Linked DNA regions of Homo sapiens: region 1 is linked to region 2. The links are contacts of gene promoters, found by promoter capture Hi-C in blood cells and fetal thymus (Javierre and others, 2016). All regions are on one chromosome and are shown on one strand. Each heading gives the region's core, a stretch centred on a gene start or on the middle of the fragment in contact. The rest is flanking DNA. Distances are from core to core; before and after follow the strand shown.

Region 1 (3,426 bases), core at 559-3,058, 130 kb after region 2:
TTGCATCAGCTTCTGTTTTAAGAGGCCAAAGGGAACAATGAATTTTTGAGTGCTGGAGAAAACAAAAGTGGGGAGAAGAGTCCTGATATCACAGCCTGGGCCAGGGCCAGCCCTGCCTGTATGCACTAAAGAGCAAAATGCAAGCTCCTCTACGAATTTGATCCTTGTGACAGCCCTGAGCCTCGCTGCTGGATTACATCCAGGAAACTTTACTGTCGAAGAGGGTGACTTACTTTCCCATTCCTGGCCTTCACCTAGCAGGTGCCGATAAACAGGGACACGATTTAGTAATCTGGGCAAAATCCAAGTTGGGGACTCTACGCCAGGGATCCCCCTGGCCTTTGAGGCTGGGTCCTTCTTCTTATCCTATTTCCAGGCATCCCAGAGGCTAGAAAAACTACCTCCACACAGCTGCAGGTATTCCTAGGGACACAGCTCACCAATCTGGTGGGTGACCAGACATTCCTTCCTGTTCTATAGGTGGGAACATCTGAGGCCCTCCTAAGCACAAGAGCCCATTTGAACAGAGCAATGGAGAAGAAGTGAGGTATCCACACAGGGCTCCAGACCAGTCTGTGTTTTCCAGGGGCCCAGGAATTCAGATAAGAGGCAGAGGGCGAAGGGAGCAAGTGTTTATCAAGCCCCAGGTGCCAGGTACTCTACGTATATGTGTGCTATCTCAGCTCATCTTCACAACACCCCTTAGAGATGGCAGGGTTTGAAGAGGCTCGGTCAGGTCACACGGCAGTACACGCTGCTGAATGGATTTGAACCCACACCTGTTTGGCTCCAAAATCCATGTTTTGTTCACTGGACTCTGCTATCTCAGCTGAGGGCCAAGAAATCTCAAAAGGTAGAGGTGGGGCCCAGAACAGAGGTCCAAATTCCTTGTATAGTTTTCATGCCCGAAGTGAATCATCCAAGTCCCTGCCTTTGAGGTTCAGGAACAGCTTGCACTAAGAGTATTTTAACTACACAGATTTTTTTTTTGACAAGGCCTTGTTCTGTCACCCATGCTGGAGTGCAGTGGCATGATCACTGCTCACTTCAGCCTTGACCTCCCTGGCTCAAGTGATTCTCCCACCTTGGTTCTCCTAAGTAACAGGGACCACAGGCACGCGCCACCATGCCCAGCTAATTTTTTTGACCCCCCCTTTTTTTTTTTTTTGAGACAGAGTCTCACTCTGCTGCCCAGGCTGGAGTGCAGTGGCGTGATCTTGGCTCATTGCAGTCTCTGCCTCCTGGGTTCAAGAGAATCTCCTGCCTCAGCCTCCCGAGTAGCTGGGATTACAGGCATGTGCCACCACGCCCAGCTAATTTTGTATTTTTAGTAGAGATGGGGTTTCGCCATCTTGGCCAGGCTGGTCTCGAACTCCTGACTCCAGGTGATCCACCTGCCTCGGCCTCCCAAAGTGCTGGGATTGCAGGCATGAGCCATTGCGCCCAGCCAACTTTTTTGATCTTTAGTGGAGACAAGTCTCTCTACGTTGCCCAAGTTTGTCTTGAACTCCTGAACTCGAGCCACCCTCCTGCACTGGCCTCCCAAAGTGCAAGAGTTACAGGTGTGAGCCACCACTCCCAGCCTTAATTACACAGATTTTAAAATTCAAACACATGTAATGTTTATGCATTCTAAAAGGGCCAGTGATTCAGATTAAGAAATTCTGCCTTCTGGCCTTACAATAAATGCAATATTGACTTCAGCTGAATTCTGTCCTGGCCAATGTTGAGCCACTAGGAGACTGTTTTTACAGATGCCTTTGGGTCCTGGGAGGTGTTTGTGTTGTGACTGTAACTTACTAGCTGAACAACCCCTGAGTCGTAAGTTATTCACCCCTTAATGCTCACAGCACAAAATCCCTACTCCTCCCTGTAGCCTTGTAGGGCTGACATTGGCTGACCTCAACCCTCTTCTCTAAACTTGACTTAAGCAATCTAGTGAGGCCTCTTAAGGCCTCACTCGAGCCCCCAAAGCCACACTGGCCTTGCTTAATCCCTTCAATTTGCTAAGCTCTCCCCATCTGCAGGCCTTTGCACTTACTGCTTGTTCTGCCTGGATGGCTCTTTACCCAGAGCTGTGCTTGGCTGACTATAGAGAATTTATTTTTGAGATAGGAGTCTTGCTCTGTTGCCCAGGCTGGAGTGCAGTGGCACCATATGGCTCACTGCAGCCTCAACCTCCTGGGCTCAAGTGATCCTCCTGCCTCAGCCTCCCAAGTAGGTGGGGCCACAGGCACACACCACCACACCTGGCTAATTTTTTTAGTGAGGAGACAGGGTCTTGCCATGTTGCCCAGGCTGGTCTTGAACTCCTGAACTCAAGCGATCCACCCACCTTGACCTCCCAGAGTGTTGGAACACCCTCCTCAGGAGGCCTTCCCTGACCCCATCTAGAGCAGCCCTCCCCAGGCTGTGGTCATAGCCTGCTGCATTGTTTCTGCTTTTTGTATGTCTCCCCACTCCTCCCACTTTCTCTTCCCAACACACCCAAACAGTACTTGTCACACAGTACTGAGTTCTATGTTCACTAACAAAATGCATGGTTGGATGAATACATTTGAATGGATGTAAGGTTTCCATGTCTGGCTGCAGGGTTGGGAGAGCAGGAAGACCCCAGGCCCTCCTGTTCCCCATCTGCTGGGACCACCAGAGAGTGACTAGCATTTCAAGGTTCTGTTGCCACCCCTCAAACACACCCTACTATTCCTGGCCCCTACATCTTTCCTCCTGTGGTTCCATTCACCTGTTCTGCTGATGCCTCTGACTGTTAAAACTCCACCAACCTTCAAGGCCCAACTCAAATGTTGCCTCCTTCAGATTCTCCCTTGACTCAGTTGGAAGAATTTGCTCCCTCCTCTGAGCTCTGCAGCCTTCTGGCTGAACCTTTGTGTGGTGTAAACACCTGTCTCCTCCTATAGACTATAAGCAACTTGAGAATGGAACATCTGTATTCCTTTTGGTAACCCCTGACACAGAGCAAGAGCTCAACAGATATGCTGGACTGAAGTATGGTGGGAGGACTGACTGACAGCTGGACGGACATGAGAAAGGATGGCCTGAGAGGTGGGTCACAGCGGGGGCACCACCGGCCTCCCAGGGAGCCTCAGGCAGAGACTCCAACACCAGGTTCCAGTTCAAACTTTTTTCCTAGCTGGGACTTTAAGCAAATTGCTTCCCCACACTGGCCCTCAGTTTACATGTCTGTAAAATGGAGATAGTAGTAGTAACCTCATGTAACACATAGGCTTTTTTTTTTTATTTTTTGAGACTGAGCCTTGCTCTGTCTCCTAGGCTGGAGTGCAGTGGCACAATCTCAGCTCACTGCAACCTCCGCCTCCCGGGTTCAAGCGATTCTCCTGCCCCAGCCTCCCGAGTAGCTGGGATTACAGGCATGCGCCACCACACCTGGCTAATTTTTGTATTTTT
Region 2 (3,833 bases), core at 496-2,995:
GTAAGGGGAAATCAGTATCTGTAGGTTACTATTGTAGGACTTGGCACTCAAGTGGCTGGCTGGGACTCAAAATGGCAGCTGATGTATTCCCCACCCCTCTTTTTTTCTTTCCCCTCCCCCTCCTCTTACAGGGTGAGAAGAACAGTGTGGACTGGGGTGACCTTAACCTGGTGCTGCCCTGTCTGGAGTACCACAACAACACATGGACATGGCTAGACTTTGCCATGGCTGTCAAAAGGGACAGCCGCAAAGCCCTGGTTGCCCAGGTATCCCGCCAGGGCTCATGGCTGTTTGGCTAATGGGGCTGGCAGGCAGATCCTCTTTTCAGGAGCCTTTCATTTTAGAATCCATGAATAAATATCCTTGGGAAGGGGCAGGTGCATGAAGTGAGTGGCTTCTATGCCTACCCTCTCCATGACCTCACTCAGATTATTAAATTCAGTGTTTACTGAGTGTTTCGTATAGCACCATTGATTTTAGGGAACTGAGAGCTAACACAACCTAAAGTTTAGAAGGGGTTATAATTAGACTGTAAGCTTCTTGAAAGCAGAGACCATTGTATGTGAATTGCCCCATTGTGCCTTGGATGTGTTTAATAAATCTTTATTGTCTTGGTTCATTTTGATTTATTCTGCCTGCCCACTAATATTTACATTTTCTTTTACTCCTCTCCAATCTGCCAGGTAATCAAAGAGAAGCTAAGGCTGAAGTCTGCAACAGGCTCTGAGGTCCGGGGAAAGCTAGAAACTAAATCGGACCTGAACATGCAACAGCAGGAAGAGGAGGAGAAAGCCCGGCTCCTCATTGGTTTAAGTGTGGGCGACAAGAACCCTGGCAAGAAGTCCATCTTTGGCAGGCGCAAATGATTTGGCGATTCGAGTGGCTGCAGTACAGGATCTGACTCTGGCTCAGGCTCCAGGGACTTGTGGGGTGGGAGGGGCTTCCCGTTATCCACGAGGATTTGTGGGTGTCAGAGCCCATAGGCATCACTCTTCAGCACCTGGTCTGTTCGCTGCAGGGCATGGTGGACAGTAATGCTGAGTTCTGTCTCACACTGATCAGGCTCAGGGCCAGAGAGGCAACAAGAGAGCAAGACCCAGGGAATGGGCCCAGGGCAGGACCCTATTCCCTTGGGGTCAAGTGAAAGGGTAGGGGGATAGTCCTGATCAAGTGTGATAAATTTTTATAGACATATATAAATATATATATATTATATATATATTTCTAAGTGTAACTGTCCTTCCTCTGTGCCAGGAAACGGGAGGGGGCTGATCCTCTGATCCTCACTCCACTGTCATGTTTGAAAGAGGTATTGGTGTTCTGGAGTGGGGGTCAACCCCTCCCCAGTCTCTGTGCTAAGTTCACTTGGGAGGATGGCAGTAGGAGCCAGGGCTGGCCATGGGTCCCCTACCCTTCCCCGTAGGATATACCCTGGAGAATGGCAAAATGATTTAAAGAGAAAAAAAAAGATATTTTAAATTTGATGCTCATTTTTGTGTGTGTGTGTTGAGTGCATGCATTCAATCTGTGTATTCCTCCCTCATCAACCCAGAACATCCTGCAGCTGCCACTCTGAGGGTGGCCCCTTCCTTCCTCTGCCCTGAAGCTGTATCACAGAAATTTCTAGTCCTAGTGTGACTCTGGCCCCATGCTGATGGGTTTCTGCAGACTGGAAGAGGCGGGGCTCGTGTCACGCAGCATCAGGGAGAGGAATTGCTTATATAACTGGGACAGCAGATTTAGCAGAGAGAGGAGGCAGAGGCTGGGAATGGGAGCAGTAAGCTGTCGGCAGGGGCAGCACACCCAGCAGGGGGAACACACCCGGGTGGCTGTCCCTCACAAGGTAGGCTGTGGGGCTCTGGCAGCCTACTGAGGGGAGGAGAGGGAGACATGGGCTTGAGTCCTGGGAAGTTCCTGGTTAGGAGCATGGAAGTGATTACCCAATGTGGGGGTGGGGCAGGGAGGCTGTACTATGAAAGCATCACAGCCCAATACTGAGGTGCAGGCTGTACTCTTAATGCGTCATGGTGAAAATGTCCAACAATTATTTTCCTAGAGGATTTGAATTGTGCCCAGGAAATCTGGGGCTTAGCACAAAGCAAGGGTAATGGGAATTTTGCCTCATGCTCAAAAATGTACCTCTAGGGGTTGAGACTTAAGGGGAGGGAGTGCCTAGTAAGATGGGTGGAACCTGCTATGCCTCAGGAGCAGAAAGTTTAGAGTGGCTCCCTTGGTTCTCAGCAGGGTGGCAACATCCGGGGTCCCTGGGCCCGAGGCTGGAAGAGCCTCTGGACAGGTTTGGGAACCATCAGGTCAGATCTGGAAGAACTCTGGGAACTACGGGGGCACCACTATCTGCACCAGGAATCCCTAAAGCCAGCCCCAGTACTGGTAGAGAAGCCTCTGCCAGAGTGGCCAGTGCCTCAGTTCATCAACCTCTTTCTACCAGAGTTTCCCATTAGGCCCATTAGGGGGCAGCAGCAGCTGAAGGTAAGTCAGTGGAATCCCTGAGTGGGGTCTCAGTCTTTGGGAGAAGTTAAAAATGACCAGTCTCAACTGGCCTGTTCTCCATTCCTCTGTACAGATTTTAGGCCTCGTGGCTAAAGGCTCCTTTGGAACTGTCCTCAAGGTGCTAGATTGCACCCAGAAAGCTGTATTTGCAGTGAAGGTAGGGGCGTAGATACCACATTAGTCTCTGTTTCCAATCTTGATTCCAGAGAGGTTGGGAGGAATAAACAATTCAATAGCACTATCTATGAGTCATCACTACTCTCCTTTTATAGGTGGTGCCCAAGGTAAAGGTCCTACAGAGGGATACCGTGAGGCAGTGCAAAGAGGAGGTTAGCATCCAGGTATGCACAGAGTCCTGGAAAGGATTGTGGGAAGAGCTAGGCCACAGGTAGGGAAAGTACCTTTCTTGCCCACCTTCTTTTCCTGGTTCTGCCTCATCCATCTGCTTCAGCCTAGTTTAACACTAAAGTAGATCCTGGGAAAAGTATCAGCTCTCAACACAGTTTTCCCATGTCCTACTAGGGAAATCTCTGAAGCATGTCCCAGTGTATTCCTTAGTATTTGCTGGTTCTAGGATTACCAGATAGTCAGTTCCAAATATTGAGTTCCTCTGAACTGAGAGGTGAGGCAGCAGTTCCCCCTCTGCACATCTGGGTAAAACCTGATTTCTCAGCTGCCTTTATTCTCAATGACCCTGTTCCTCCCTAACTTCCTGTTTTCTTTGTTCCTAGCGACAGATCAACCATCCCTTTGTACACAGCTTGGGGGACAGCTGGCAGGGAAAACGGCACCTTTTCATTAGTGAGTGACTGGACTCTCTCCTCATCCCCCAGGGTCTTTGTACCATGTTCCCCACCTGAGATTACCTCTTTGGCTTGTTCTGCCTTTGCTCTGTCCCCCTTCTCATGGCACCTCTCTGTCCCAAAGGGAGGGGAACAGCAGGTGGTATCAGTTTGGGCAGGAGGCCTACAATGCCTTGAGCCCAGGCATTGCAGCTCCCAAACATTGCCTAGACTTCTGGCAATGTATGTAGCTCCACACTGGCTTTGCAGTGTGTAGCTACTGCAGCACAGATCTGTACTCCCTTTGGTCGGCTGTTGGCTGCTTTCCTGAGGCTTCCATCCGTCTCTTTGCTGCCGAGTTGGTGCTGGTACTGTGTAAGTGAAACAGTGGTAAAGGAAATGGGGAGGGAAGATTTAAGTTCGGAAGAAGGAGAGTAAAAAATTAATATTAATAATGGAAGTTAAAGAATAGGATAGGGATGGGATGAGGGCTACTAGGGAAACTGGAAAGGACAGAAAAGCTGCAGCATACCCCATACT

Evidence for each region. Contacts are between HindIII fragments. The CHiCAGO score rates a contact against its expected background, and 5 or more counts as called.
Region 1: a fragment that was not itself captured here is called in contact with the fragment with the promoter of RSKR in region 2 in 3 of 17 cell types (total B cells, naive B cells and naive CD4 T cells); the score reaches 6.3 in total B cells.

The regions. Positions count from the first base shown.
Region 1 is chr17:28,477,896-28,481,321 of GRCh38, reverse strand. All of the region lies in intron 1 of SLC13A2 (solute carrier family 13 member 2), which reads right to left. Among named protein-coding and RNA genes, the nearest start is that of SLC13A2, 6.0 kb to the right of the region's middle. The HindIII fragment of the contact is 3,847 bases long and covers 1-3,426 here.
Region 2 is chr17:28,612,097-28,615,929 of GRCh38, reverse strand. It overlaps RSKR (ribosomal protein S6 kinase related), which reads left to right and starts at 1,745. Exons shown (of 12, transcript NM_001174103.2): 1 at 1,745-1,843; 2 at 2,242-2,490; 3 at 2,585-2,668; 4 at 2,784-2,852; 5 at 3,243-3,312; 6 at 3,564-3,668. The coding sequence starts at 1,769. BLTP2 (bridge-like lipid transfer protein family member 2) reads left to right here. Exons shown (of 39, transcript NM_014680.5): 38 at 132-266; 39 at 684-1,484. The coding sequence ends at 866. The region is part of intron 2 of SPAG5-AS1 (SPAG5 antisense RNA 1); the gene reads right to left. RefSeq lists an enhancer at 3,381-3,833. The HindIII fragment of the contact is 13,614 bases long and covers 539-3,833 here.